Regions from separate parts of the Homo sapiens genome. Here region 2 is linked to region 1. The links are contacts of gene promoters, found by promoter capture Hi-C in human tissues and cell types (Jung and others, 2019). All regions are on one chromosome and are shown on one strand. Each heading gives the region's core, a stretch centred on a gene start or on the middle of the fragment in contact. The rest is flanking DNA. Distances are from core to core; before and after follow the strand shown.

What was found. Contacts are between HindIII fragments. The study calls those that stand out against the background at their distance.
Region 2: a contact is called between a fragment that was not itself captured here and the fragment with the promoter of HSD11B2 in region 1, in 1 of the 25 tissues and cell types used here (dorsolateral prefrontal cortex).

The regions. Positions count from the first base shown.
Region 1 is chr16:67,429,790-67,432,498 of GRCh38, forward strand. HSD11B2 (hydroxysteroid 11-beta dehydrogenase 2) reads left to right here and starts at 1,332. Exons shown (of 5, transcript NM_000196.4): 1 at 1,332-1,724. The coding sequence starts at 1,460. RefSeq lists silencers at 1,001-1,050, 1,271-1,450. The HindIII fragment of the contact is 17,409 bases long and covers 1-2,709 here.
Region 2 is chr16:67,927,131-67,929,839 of GRCh38, forward strand. It overlaps PSKH1 (protein serine kinase H1), which reads left to right. Exons shown (of 3, transcript NM_006742.3): 3 at 195-2,546. The coding sequence ends at 512. It overlaps CTRL (chymotrypsin like), which reads right to left. Exons shown (of 7, transcript NM_001907.3): 7 at 2,444-2,709. Among named protein-coding and RNA genes, the nearest start is that of CTRL, 3.4 kb to the right of the region's middle. RefSeq lists enhancers at 1-343, 1,716-2,426. The HindIII fragment of the contact is 3,913 bases long and covers 1-2,709 here.

The DNA of each region.
Region 1 (2,709 bases), core at 82-2,581:
CAGCCTCCCCTGAGATTTCCCTGGCTCACCAGGGGGCTGTGTCTGGTGGCAGAGAGGGCTTTGGAGGAGGCATTGCCCTGAAACCCTGGCAGAGCCTGGGCACCTAAGAGAGAATGAGCAACAGGGCTAGGAAGTGTGACAGGGAGTCCACAACCTCCCAGGATCTTGGGAGGGCAGGGATGAGGCACTGAGCACGGCCTGGAAGCCCACGGGAAGCAGGGACCCCTCTGTCGAGGGCTACACCTACTGCTCTCAGCATCAAGCCTGCAGCCAGGTACTGGCACCAACTCCCAGTGCCTGGCAGAGCCCTGGCATGGATGCTAGGCACAGGGTGCCAGACACGGGGGTGGGCAGGGTGGGGGGCCACTGGGCCACACACAAGCATGGAGACCTTCACACACGCAGGCAGAAAAATCCACCCACACTCATACCACTTATTTTACCCCCTGGGGGTTCAGGGGAGCAAGGCAGGGACCACCCTGTCCTAGAGGCTGCCTTCACCGACGTCCCTCTGGCCTGGCTCTTGGGGTTGGCGGGGGTGGGCCATAAGTAATGGGAGACCTAGGTGCTTCCTCTGACACCCCACCCTCCACTGACCCCCACACACATACATTTGTGAGGCAGGAAGTGGGGTTGTGCGTCCCCAGGTTTAAGCCCTGGAAGGAAAGGGAAAGACGGGGCAGAGACTCCAAGAACCGGGAGCGGTCGTCCTGTTCCCCCGCCAGCCCCTGTCCCAGGCAGGTTTTGTGGCCGCGAGCTGCTCAGGGGTGAGCGCGCCTTAGGGTGTGTGCGCCAGGGACCTGGCGCAGCCGACCACGTGGGAGTGCGGCGCGTGTACGGGCGCGGGCGGCAGCGGCAGCGGCAGCGGAGACCGGGTGAGCACCGGCTGGTTCCTCGCGGTGTTCCTGCAGGCTTGGCGGCCGCGGTGGTGCGATCAGCAAAGGGCACCGGGATGCCGGTTGTGCGTGTCCTCAGGTGTCCCGAACAAGCGTGAGTGGCATGTGCTCACCTGAGCGCGGCGGCTTGGCGGCCCCGGGCGTGTGGGTGGGGGCGCGGCGGAGAGCTGAGGCCGGGCACCCGGGCTGGACCGACGGGCCCTCTCCCAAGCACCGCCCGCAGCCAGGCGGCTCCTCGAGCGCAGCAACTTTGGGACTTTGTTCCGGCTTTTTCCAAATCGAATCTGGTCGAGGGGGCGGGGCGGGGGGGGAGCACCTGCCCTGCGGGGGGTGCCGGGAGAGAAGTGAAGGAAAGCCCCGCCCCCGCCCCTCCCGCTCCCCGCCCTCTCCCCCGCCCCCGGGGCTCTTCATAAGCTCGGCCCGAGGGCGAGCAGAGAAAGCGAGTGTCCCTCTCGCGCCCCAGGCCGGTGTACCCCCGCACTCCGCGCCCCGGCCTAGAAGCTCTCTCTCCCCGCTCCCCGGCCCGGCCCCCGCCCCGCCCCGCCCCAGCCCGCTGGGCCGCCATGGAGCGCTGGCCTTGGCCGTCGGGCGGCGCCTGGCTGCTCGTGGCTGCCCGCGCGCTGCTGCAGCTGCTGCGCTCAGACCTGCGTCTGGGCCGCCCGCTGCTGGCGGCGCTGGCGCTGCTGGCCGCGCTCGACTGGCTGTGCCAGCGCCTGCTGCCCCCGCCGGCCGCACTCGCCGTGCTGGCCGCCGCCGGCTGGATCGCGTTGTCCCGCCTGGCGCGCCCGCAGCGCCTGCCGGTGGCCACTCGCGCGGTGCTCATCACCGGTGAGTGCGCGGGTCGCGGAGCGCGGGGACTCCAGGCTCGAGGGCGGGACTGGACACTCAACAGGACTGACTCCCCATGGGCACAGCCAAGGCGGGCTCCTCAGCGCAAGAGTGGGAGAGTTCTCCACCCCTGGGTGCAGGGAGCGAGCCAAATAGGGAGCGCCGGGCACCTCCCCAAGCCCGGGTTCACTACCTGCCGCTGCGGGGAGTGTTGGAGGGAAAGTGAGACAGGGAGTGGGCCGGTTCGAGAAGGAAACTGACTGGTGGCTGAGAAGAGGGAACCTCCTGGAGTTTGAGAGTTTATGCCATTCCCTTCCCCAAGAGAGCAGTCTCAGGGGACTTCGGAGGCCTTGAGAAGGGAGGATCGTTACCCCTTGAACTCTGCCTGACATCCCCACCTAAGATACCCATCTCCCATTCCTCGGGCCAGAGGGAAGAGCTTAGATGGGGAACTTCCCCACCCCACCCATCCCCCACTGGCTGGGATCCTTGGAGTTCAGAAAAGCTAGAGGTCACCGTGAGGGGCAGCTGGACATTCAGCTGTCTTTCTGTCTAGCCACCCACTGCCAAACTGCTGAGGCAGTAGTTTGGAGCCTACACCCAGCACCCCACCCCCAAGCCCTCCTGGTCCTCTGTGCCCAGGAAGGAGCTCTTAGAGAGCTGGGCTCAGGTGCCTCTGGCCGCCTAGCTGAGCTCCTTTGTCTGGAGCAGGGAATAAATCTGTCACCAGAGGGAGGGAAGGGGAAGGGGGGGGGGGGCTGGAGGCCCGCCGGAAGTGGGGAGGGGGAGAAAGGCCAGGGGGCACTGACTCCATTGCATCGTGGGAGGAGCAGCCTGGTCTCTCGCCAATACCCACGGCTTTGGACAGGTGCTCCAGGCTTTGTCCTTGCGCTGGGCCTTTGCTGGGGCAGCCAGCAACCTGGCTTCTCAGAGACCTCGGTCTAGTAGGGGCCCTGTGTGATCAGATGGGGCTGGGAGAATTTTC
Region 2 (2,709 bases), core at 73-2,572, 500 kb after region 1:
TGCCAGACTCCATCACCTGGAGAGCAGCCCTTGTTCAGCCTGAGCCAGCGTTGGGCGGGGAGGCCCCAAGTGCTACATGAGAGGAGGGGCAGCACCTCTCTCTGGAAAGGGGAGGGTTGCTGAGTAGTGGCCTCATCCAGATGGGGTGGGCAGTGTCAGATGCTCTCACTCTAATGCTTGTCCTTGGTCTCTAGCCCTGGCCTAGTGTGTCCAACCTGGCCAAGGACTTCATTGACCGCCTGCTGACAGTGGACCCTGGAGCCCGTATGACTGCACTGCAGGCCCTGAGGCACCCGTGGGTGGTGAGCATGGCTGCCTCTTCATCCATGAAGAACCTGCACCGCTCCATATCCCAGAACCTCCTTAAACGTGCCTCCTCGCGCTGCCAGAGCACCAAATCTGCCCAGTCCACGCGTTCCAGCCGCTCCACACGCTCCAATAAGTCACGCCGTGTGCGGGAACGGGAGCTGCGGGAGCTCAACCTGCGCTACCAGCAGCAATACAATGGCTGAGCCGCCTGGCTGTGCACACATGCAGCACGACCCAGCCTGGCCACACACTGTGGTGCCATCTGGGTCCGATGCCCTCTCTGGAGATAGGCCTATGTGGCCCACAGTAGGTGAAGAATGTCTGGCTCCAGCCCTTTCTCTGTGCCTTCAGCAGCCCCTGTCCTCACCATGGGCCTGGGCCAGGTGTGACAGAGTAGAGGTAGCACAGGGGGCTGTGACTCCCCCTGAACTGGGAGCCTGGCCTGGCACTGATACCCCTCTTGGTGGGCAGCTGCTCTGGTGGAGTTGGGAAGGGATAGGACCTGGCCTTCACTGTCTCCCTTGCCCTTTGACTTTTCCCCAATCAAAGGGAACTGCAGTGCTGGGTGGAGTGTCCTGTGGCCTCAGGACCCTTTGGGACAGTTACTTCTGGGACCCCCTTTCCTCCACAGAGCCCTTCTCCCTGGTTTCACACATTCCCATGCATCCTGATCCTTAAGATTATGCTCCAGTGGGAGACCCTGGTAGGCACAAAGCTTGTGCCTTGACTGGACCCGTAGCCCCTGGCTAGGTCGAAACAGCCCTCCACCTCCCAGCCAAGATCTGTCTTCCTTCATGGTGCCTCCAGGGAGCCTTCCTGGTCCCAGGACCTCTGGTGGAGGGCCATGGCGTGGACCTTCACCCTTCTGGACTGTGTGGCCATGCTGGTCATCGGCTTGCCCAGGCTCCAGCCTCTCCAGATTCTGAGGGGTCTCAGCCCACCGCCCTTGGTGCCTTCTTTGTAGAGCCCACCGCTACCTCCCTCTCCCCGTTGGATGTCCATTCCATTCCCCAGGTGCCTCCTTCCCAACTGGGGGTGGTTAAAGGGAGCCCCACTGCTGCTACCTGGGGAATGGGGCACCTGGGGGCCAAGGCAGAGGGAAGGGGGTCCTCCCGATTAGGGTCGAGTGTCAGCCTGGGTTCTATCCTTTGGTGCAGCCCCATTGCCTTTTCCCTTCAGGCTCTGTTGCTCCCTCCTCTGCAGCTGCACGAAGGCGCCATCTGGTGTCTGCATGGGTGTTGGCAGCCTGGGAGTGATCACTGCACGCCCATCGTGCACACCTGCCCATCGTGCACACCCACCCATGGTGCACACCTGTAGTCCTCCATGAGGACATGGGAAGGTAGGAGTTGCCGCCCTGGGGGAGGGTCCCGGGCTGCTCACCTCTCCCCTTCTGCTGAGCTTCTGCGCACCCCTCCCTGGAACTTAGCCATACTGTGTGACCTGCCTCTGAAACCAGGGTGCCAGGGGCACTGCCTTCTCACAGCTGGCCTTGCCCCGTCCACCCTGTGCTGCTTCCCTTCACAGCATTAACCTTCCAGTCTGGGTCCCACTGAGCCTCAAGCTGGAAGGAGCCCCTGCGGGAGGTGGGTGGGGTTGGGTGGCTGCTTTCCCAGAGGCCTGAGCCAGAACCATCCCCATTTCTTTTGTGGTATCTCCCCCTACCACAAACCAGGCTGGAACCCAAGCCCCTTCCTCCACAGCTGCCTTCAGTGGGTAGAATGGGGCCAGGGCCCAGCTTTGGCCTTAGCTTGACGGCAGGGCCCCTGCCATTGCAGGAGGGTTTGGTTCCCACTCAGCTTCTGCCGGTCGGCAGCCTGGGCCAGGCCCTTTTCCTGCATGTGCCACCTCCAGTGGGAAACAAAACTAAAGAGACCACTCTGTGCCAAGTCGACTATGCCTTAGACACATCCTCCTACCGTCCCCAATGCCCCCTGGGCAGGAGGCAGTGGAGAACCAAGCCCCATGGCCTCAGAATTTCCCCCCAGTTCCCCAAGTGTCTCTGGGGACCTGAAGCCCTGGGGCTTACGTTCTCTCTTGCCCAGGGTGGGCCTGGTCCTGAGGGCAGGACAGGGGGTTTGGAGATGTGGGCCTTTGATAGACCCACTTGGGCCTTCATGCCATGGCCTGTGGATGGAGAATGTGCAGTTATTTATTATGCGTATTCAGTTTGTAAACGTATCCTCTGTATTCAGTAAACAGGCTGCCTCTCCAGGGAGGGCTGCCATTCATTCCAACAGTTCTGGCTTCTTGCTGTAGGACCAAGGGGTTGCCCTGGAGGAGGGGTGGGGGCCCCGGCCTCGGCATGGCTACTCTAGGAAGAGCCACTGCTACTCAAGGAGTCACTCAGCCCCTTCTGTGCCAGAAGTCCAAGTAGGGAGTCGGACCCTCAACAGCCTC